Linked DNA regions of Homo sapiens: region 1 is linked to region 2. Evidence: promoter capture Hi-C in human tissues and cell types (Jung and others, 2019). All regions are on one chromosome and are shown on one strand. Each heading gives the region's core, a stretch centred on a gene start or on the middle of the fragment in contact. The rest is flanking DNA. Distances are from core to core; before and after follow the strand shown.

What was found. Contacts are between HindIII fragments. The study calls those that stand out against the background at their distance.
Region 1: a contact is called between a fragment that was not itself captured here and the fragment with the promoter of TAC3 in region 2, in 1 of the 25 tissues and cell types used here (aorta).

The regions. Positions count from the first base shown.
Region 1 is chr12:56,571,753-56,575,337 of GRCh38, reverse strand. RBMS2 (RNA binding motif single stranded interacting protein 2) reads right to left here. Exons shown (of 14, transcript NM_002898.4): 5 at 3,483-3,585. Among named protein-coding and RNA genes, the nearest start is that of RBMS2, 52 kb to the right of the region's middle. The HindIII fragment of the contact is 8,132 bases long and covers 1-3,585 here.
Region 2 is chr12:57,015,277-57,018,811 of GRCh38, reverse strand. TAC3 (tachykinin precursor 3) reads left to right here and starts at 2,283. Exons shown (of 7, transcript NM_013251.4): 1 at 2,283-2,425; 2 at 3,010-3,128. The coding sequence starts at 3,015. The HindIII fragment of the contact is 18,684 bases long and covers 1-2,741 here.

The DNA of each region.
Region 1 (3,585 bases), core at 581-3,080, 440 kb after region 2:
AGCCTCCCAGGTAGCTGGAACTATAGGCACGTGCCACCATGCTCAGCTAATTTTTTTTGTTTGTTTTGTTTTTGTAGAGATGGGGTTTCACATGTTGCCCAGGCTGGTCTTGAACTCCTGAGCTCAAGTGATCTGCCCGCCTCAGCCTCCCAAAGTCGGGTTTTTTTTTGAGACGAGTCTCACTCTGTTGCCCAGGCTGAAGTGCATGTCGCCCAGGCTGAAGCGCCTTGGTGCAATCTGGGCTCACTGCAAGCTCCGCCTCCCGGGTTCACACCATTCTCCAGCATCAGCCTTCCGAGTAAGCTGGGACTACAGGCGCCCGCCACCACGCCCGGCTAATTTTTTGTATTTTTAGTAGAGATGGGGTTTCACCATGTTAGCCAGGATGATCTCGATCTCCTGACCTCATGATCCGCCCGCCTCGGCCTCCCAAAGTGCTAGGATTATAGGCGTGAGTCACGGAGTCCGGCCAAAGTCAGGTATTTTTTAAATGAATGATTTGTGTATCAGATTGCTATGATATTTAGATCTCATTTGAATACATTTTTAAACGAAGTAACAGTTTTATTTTAAATGCCAATATTTATAATTTGCTGGAAATCATACTTTGCATGAATCTGAATATATGAAGAAAACTTGTAGACATTAACATAGAAACATATAAGAGATTTCATAGTTTTTCAAAAGTCTCTAAAGCCACAGTTCCTAAACTGTGCTCTCAGGCACTGTGGGTGGCTGTGGTGAACTCAGAGGGTCACAACGAGGGTTATTTTAACTCTTTGAAGAAAAACAGCAATATCTGTTGGAGAATGTGTGCACTACTAACTCAAAATTGTACACTGCTTCAACATTAGTTCCCCCTACAATCCTTTTGATAGATAACATCATATTTTCACAAAGCTGGGTTTAAATAGTTGCTATGACAAAAGCAAATACCATAAGAAAACCAATACGTAACAGGAAATGAGTGTGTAGGTGTCCATTCTGATACCAAATTTTGAGAAGTTGTGCAATTCCAACAGGCACATATTCCATTAGTAAGTATAGTTAGAATGAAATAAAGACATGCTCTCTTTCAATGTTTGTGTATTATTTTTTCAAACAGCTACAAAGTTGTTAAAGCATAAACACTTCTTAAGCTGTATGGACCATGAAGTTACTGCTGTCAGGAAATTTTTTTAAAAAGTTGTGTGGACTGGCTGGGCGCAGTGGCTCATGCCTGTAATCCTAGCACTTTGGGAGGCTGAGGCGGCTGGATAACCTGAGGTCAGGAGTTCGAGAACAGCCTGGACAACCTGGTGAAACCACATCTTTACTAAAAATACAAAAATTAGCTGGGCATGGTGGCGGGCGCCTGTAATCCCAGTTACTCAGGAGGCTGAGGCAGGAGAATCACTTGAACCCGGGAGGCAGAGGTTGCAGTGAGCCAAGATTGTGCCATTGCACTCCAGCCTGGGCAACAGAGTGAGACTTCGTCTCAACAACAACAACAACAACAACAAAAATACAAAAATTAGCCAGGCGTGGTGGTACGCACCTGTGGTACGCGACAGAGCGAGACTCCGTCTCAAAAAAAAAAAAAAAAAGTGTGGACCATTCAGTTACTTAATAAATTGAACTGTTAGGTATTTCTTTTGGTCTAGGGTGAAAAACTATTAGATAACTAAGGGTGGCACAAACTGAGAAAGGTTAAGAACCTCTGCTCAACCTGCAAAATAAGTTCGATGGTCCCAAGCCTAGGAACTCTCCTTTAGATATACACGGGATTGCCAGCAGGTGGTGCTACTAAGCTTGAGTCAGCTGGGGAAGAGGAACTATTTCTTTTCTTCTTCTTCTTTTTTTTTTTTTTTTTTTTTTTTTTGAGATGGCGTCTCGCTTTGCTGCCCAGGCTGGAATGCAATGGCGCGATCTCGGCTTACTGCAACCTCCGCCTCCCGGGTTCAAGTGATTCTCCTGCCTCAGCCTCCCGAGTAGCTGGGACTACAGGAGCCCGCCACCATACCCAGCTAATTTTTGTATTTTTAGTAGAGACGGGGTTTCACCAGGTTGGCCAGGCTGGTCTCAAACTCCTGACCTCAGGTGATCCACCCGCCTCAGCCTCCCAAAGTGCTGGGATTACAGGCGTGAGCCACCACGCCCAGCCAAGAGAAACTATTTCTTGTTCCCAAGGTCTGAAACACTCAGAGTAAGGGGGTGTTCACGGACCAGACAAGATATAAAGCAAAAAGGGGTGCTTGGCTCACTTAGTCCAGTCATTTTGAAACTAAAAAAAAAAAAAAAAGTCAAAAGAATCTCCTTTCAAATAAAATCTTAAAATAAATAAAAGCAGAGCCATTTCTTAAGTGGGCTAAGGGAGGCTGATACCCTACGACAGTGAGGGCAGATACCAAAGCCCAAAGAAGGGCACCTGGGAAAACTGCAGGTATAGGGAATACTGTGGGAAAATTACTCATCTGAATCAATCTCCACTTCAGAGAGTGAACCAAGGCTCACAAGCTCTGATATCACAGGTGCAGAATTGTTCTGGAATACAGGTCTCCCAACAGATCTGAAAAGGAAGATCAAAACTTCTACCTCATCCTACTGCTCTCAAAGCCAGAAGGATCAGGGCTCTGCTCTAACACCCACTCCTGTAAGACCCTGGGCAAATCATTTCTACTGAAGAGTTCACTTTCCTCATCTGTAAGATAGAGAATATTTATCTCACAGGGATGTTGTAAAGATTAAATGAGACAAGATGAGAAATACTCAGTAAACTATAAGAATATACAGAATTTTTTACTCTGGTTGGGTCTGGATTAAAGGAACAAAGCCTAGAGTACTTCCCTAGGAAGTAGTAGGGAGCTTAGCCGAGTGTGGTGGCTCATGCCTGTAATCCCAACTGCTTAGGTGGCTGAGGCAGGAGGATCACTTGAGCCCAGATGTTCAAGAGCAGCCTGGGCAACACAGCAAGACCCCATCTTTATAAAAAAAATATTTAGGTGGGGCTAATGGGTTTTTGAGTATTGTAACCTATAATAAAATGAACCTTTTTTTTTTTTTTTTTTTTGAGACAGAGTCTCACTCTGTTCCCCAGGCTGCAGTGCAGTGGTGCGATCTCAGCTCACTGCAACCTCTGCCTCCCAGGTTCAAGCAATTCTCCTGCCTCAGCCTCCTGAGTAGCTGGGATTACAGGCATGCGCCACCACGTCTGGCTAATTTTTGTATTTTTAGTAGAGACGGGGTTTCACCATGTTTGCCAGGCTGGTCTCAAACTCCTGACCTCAGGTGATATGCCTGCCTTGGCCTCCTAAAGTGCTGGGATTACAGGTGTAAGCCACCGCACCTGGCCTAAAATGAACTTTTGACTTACCATCAAGTATTTTTGAATAATAGTAAAGTATTTTGACCTTGTGTGGGAAAGGCATAGATTTTGTTTTCTGGTGACCCCCAAGTGACATTTGTTATTAACCTCATCATTTCCCCACTCCTGCCATCCTCACCTTGCAAAGCCAACACCTCTGCTGGTCCCACTGGTATCTCGAAGGATACGGGTGGAGATAACCTGGCCAAAGGGCTTCAGCATCCCCTCCAGTTCCTGCTCAT
Region 2 (3,535 bases), core at 1,034-3,533:
TAGGGGAAATTGTCTATTTTTATGTTTAGGTTTAACAAAGTATGGACAGCTGTGTAGAAATATGACTGGACAGAAAGGGCACGATCTAATGTTAACAGACTGAGTGGGGAAACCCAGCAAGGCCTGTCTGTTGAGATTCCTCCTAGCCTCTCTCATTCCTTCCTTCTGGTGTGGGGCAGGACCCTCTCTGGAATGGAGGTTTTATGACCTAAGTCAAATAACGTAGGTCAGATTTTTTTTTTTTTTTTTTTTTTTTTTTTTGAGCTGGAGTCTCTCTGTCAACAGGCTGGAGTGCAGTGGCGTGACCTTGGCTCACTGAAACCTCCGCCCCCTGGGTTCAAGCCATTCTCCTGCCTTAGCCTCCTGAGTAGCTGGGATTACAGGGGTGTGCCACCACGCCCAGCTAATTTTTGTATTTTTAGTACAGACAGGGTTTCACCTTGTTGGTCAGGCTGGTCTCAAATTCCTGACCTTGTGATCCACCTGCCTCGGCCTCCCAAAGTGCTAGGATTACAGGCGTGAGCCACTGTGCCCGGCCTTTTTTTTTTTTTTTTTTTTTTAGGAAGTTGTATTTTGGGCTTTTTAACTAGCTTGTTTTTTAATTAGATTATTGCCTTTAGGGTGGAGCCCTTTAATAAAAAGGGGGAAGAAAACATAGGTTTTAGGGCCTCATATTTAAATGGGTAAAGCAGGCATAGCTGGAAGGCAGAATACAGAACCCCCCTAATCAAGGATCTCATTTTTATATTGAATCCTAGGCCCCCCAAAAGAGGGAAATGTCATGGGACGAGATGTGTGGCATTTTTATCGAGTGCCCCACTGTAAAGATGCTCCCCCAAGGCTGGCAGGCAGCCCAGTGCCGATTAGCCCACTCTGTGCTTAGTCTTTTTTTTTTTTTTTTTTTTGAGGTGGAGTCTTGCTCTGTTGCCCAGGCTGGAGTGCAATGGCGTGATCTCGGCTCAATGCAATCTCTGTCTCGTGGGTTCAAGCGATTCTCCTGCCTCAGCCTCCCAAGTAGCTGAGATTACAGGCACCAGCCACTATGCTCAGCTAATTTTTTGTATTTTTAGTAGAGATGGGGTTTCAACATGTTGGCCAGGCTGGTCTCGAACTTCTGACCCCAAGTGATCCGCCCGCCTCGGCCTCCCAAAGTGCTGGGATTACAGGCGTGAGCCACCATGCCTGGCGTGCTTAGCCTATTTTTAATGGGAGTTTCATCCTCAATGGTGAGTGCTTTCATTGTCTTTAGGTGCCCCAGACCATGTTTTTAAAAATTTAAATGCACGAAGAAATAAGTAGCCCTGTATAGTAGTAATACTTTGTTGTGAATAACTGTCATAAGTCATCTCTAAAACTGTATTTTTTATCTAGTTATTATATATGACTAGCTATATGTCTAGTTTTTTAAATAATACAAAGTAATTTATTTTTGGCATCCTCAAAAACCAAAGAGATTAGGTAATGTAGTGTAGAAGAGAGCAGAGCTTTAGACCTGAGAAGAATCTGCCCATGACTCGTGAAACTCCACAACGAAAGTAGGAGACCCCAAAAAAGGGGTGAGTGTCATCTTTTCTGAATTTTTTTTTTTTTTTAGATGGAGTCTTGCTCTGCCACCAGGCTGGAGTGCAGTGGTGCAATCTCGGCTCAGCCTCCCGAGTAGCTAGGATTACAGGCACGCGCCACCATGACCAGCTAATTTTTGTATTTTTAGTAGAGACAGCGTTTCACCATGTTGGCCAGGATGGTCTCGATCTCTTGACCTCGTGATCCGCCCGCCTCGGCCTCCCAAAGTGCTGGGATTACAAGCGTGAGCCACTGCACTCGGCCGGTCAGATAATTTTTTTGGCCAGTTTTTACATAGAGTAATTTTAGGTTTTATGGCTGGCTTTGGGGCAAAGGGGTTCTGGTTTTTATAGCTGGTCTTGGGGGAGAATGGAACCGAGTGACAAGAGGACAAGAGAGGGTCAGAGAAAAACTTCTGCTTCTGAGGCGGCTATTGAGGCCTTCATTTTGGAGTATTGTCCTCTAAGCCCCAGCAGTGTCAAACTGTACACAAACCATACACAGCAGCCAGCTCGGGTGCTGTTAGGAAATGGTCTCACTGCTGGGTCTGTGGGGTATGTGTGTGTCTGGGTGTGTGGCTACTGTCTGCATCCTCCTCCCCCCTACAGCCTCCCCGCCTCCCCTCCAGCCACCCTGGGATTGGTGACTCTCAGCCCCTCCCCTCAGCTCCCCTAGACCCTCCCAGAGCCTTTATCAGGGAGCTGGGACTGAGTGACTGCAGCCTTCCTAGATCCCCTCCACTCGGTTTCTCTCTTTGCAGGAGCACCGGCAGCACCAGTGTGTGAGGGGAGCAGGCAGCGGTCCTAGCCAGTTCCTTGATCCTGCCAGACCACCCAGCCCCCGGCACAGAGCTGCTCCACAGGTAGGCAAGTGGGAGAATGCTGGATGGACCAGAGCTGGCACCAGGGGACAGGAGCCAGCGTCAGGAGGGAATAAAGCAGATGGCAGCCTCTGATAGGGGAGCAGGGGACTGGGAAGGTGAGCACAAAGCACCTGTAGGGCCGAGAGCTGGTTGGTGTTTGGAGCCTGTGGCTACAGACTCATTCTTTCATACCAGAAAGTTTTTGCCTAAGTCTTGGGATTATCTAGTACTGGAAAATAGCATCCAGGATCCCTCCTCCAGCTGACTGAGGAAACAGACCAGTCCATGTCCTACAAATCTATCATCTTTCTTGGGAGCTAGAGTCCTCCTGGCACCACTATAGCATTGCACATCTCCTGGGGAGATATCTGATGGGGTAGCAGGGAAACTAAGCCCAAGGGCTGTACCCCCTTCTCAGAAATACTTTCCACCCTCTCTCCAGACCAGGGCTTGGACAGTGGAGTTGGGGGCTGGGGAAGCAGGGTCAAGCCAAGCTGCTGGTAATGAATGTCTCTTGTGTCTTCACCCATGCTGTATCTTCCTCTTCTCTCCTTTACCTGAGTCCTGTCCCTTTGCTCTCCCAGGCACCATGAGGATCATGCTGCTATTCACAGCCATCCTGGCCTTCAGCCTAGCTCAGAGCTTTGGGGCTGTCTGTAAGGAGCCACAGGAGGAGGTGGTTCCTGGCGGGGGCCGCAGCAAGGTAAGTCTCCCCTGGCAGAGTACTGGGGACATCACGGGAACTTGGGACTCTGCCTGTCTGGACAGCTGTAGTGAGGAAACTGGGGTGGGGGGGTTGTCCGTCAGAGGGCATTTTGCCTCCCTTTGGATTTCTTTGTTTCTCTGGTCCTTTCATGTTCCCACTGTCTCCAGGTGTGTTTGTGTCTCTGTATCTCTGCATGTCTTTGACACCTTGTACATAAAAGGTGCCCTACAAATATGTTGTTTGGTGGGTTGATTGATGGGAGACTTGGTGATTGGATGGTACTGTGAGGGGTGAGCTAGGGTGGTCTAAGGCTCTCTATAGTCTACCTCAGGTCCCTTTGCAAGGGACAGATCTCTTCTATTTCCTGGATGGTATGAAACAGTCAGAATTTCTTTCCCAAATGG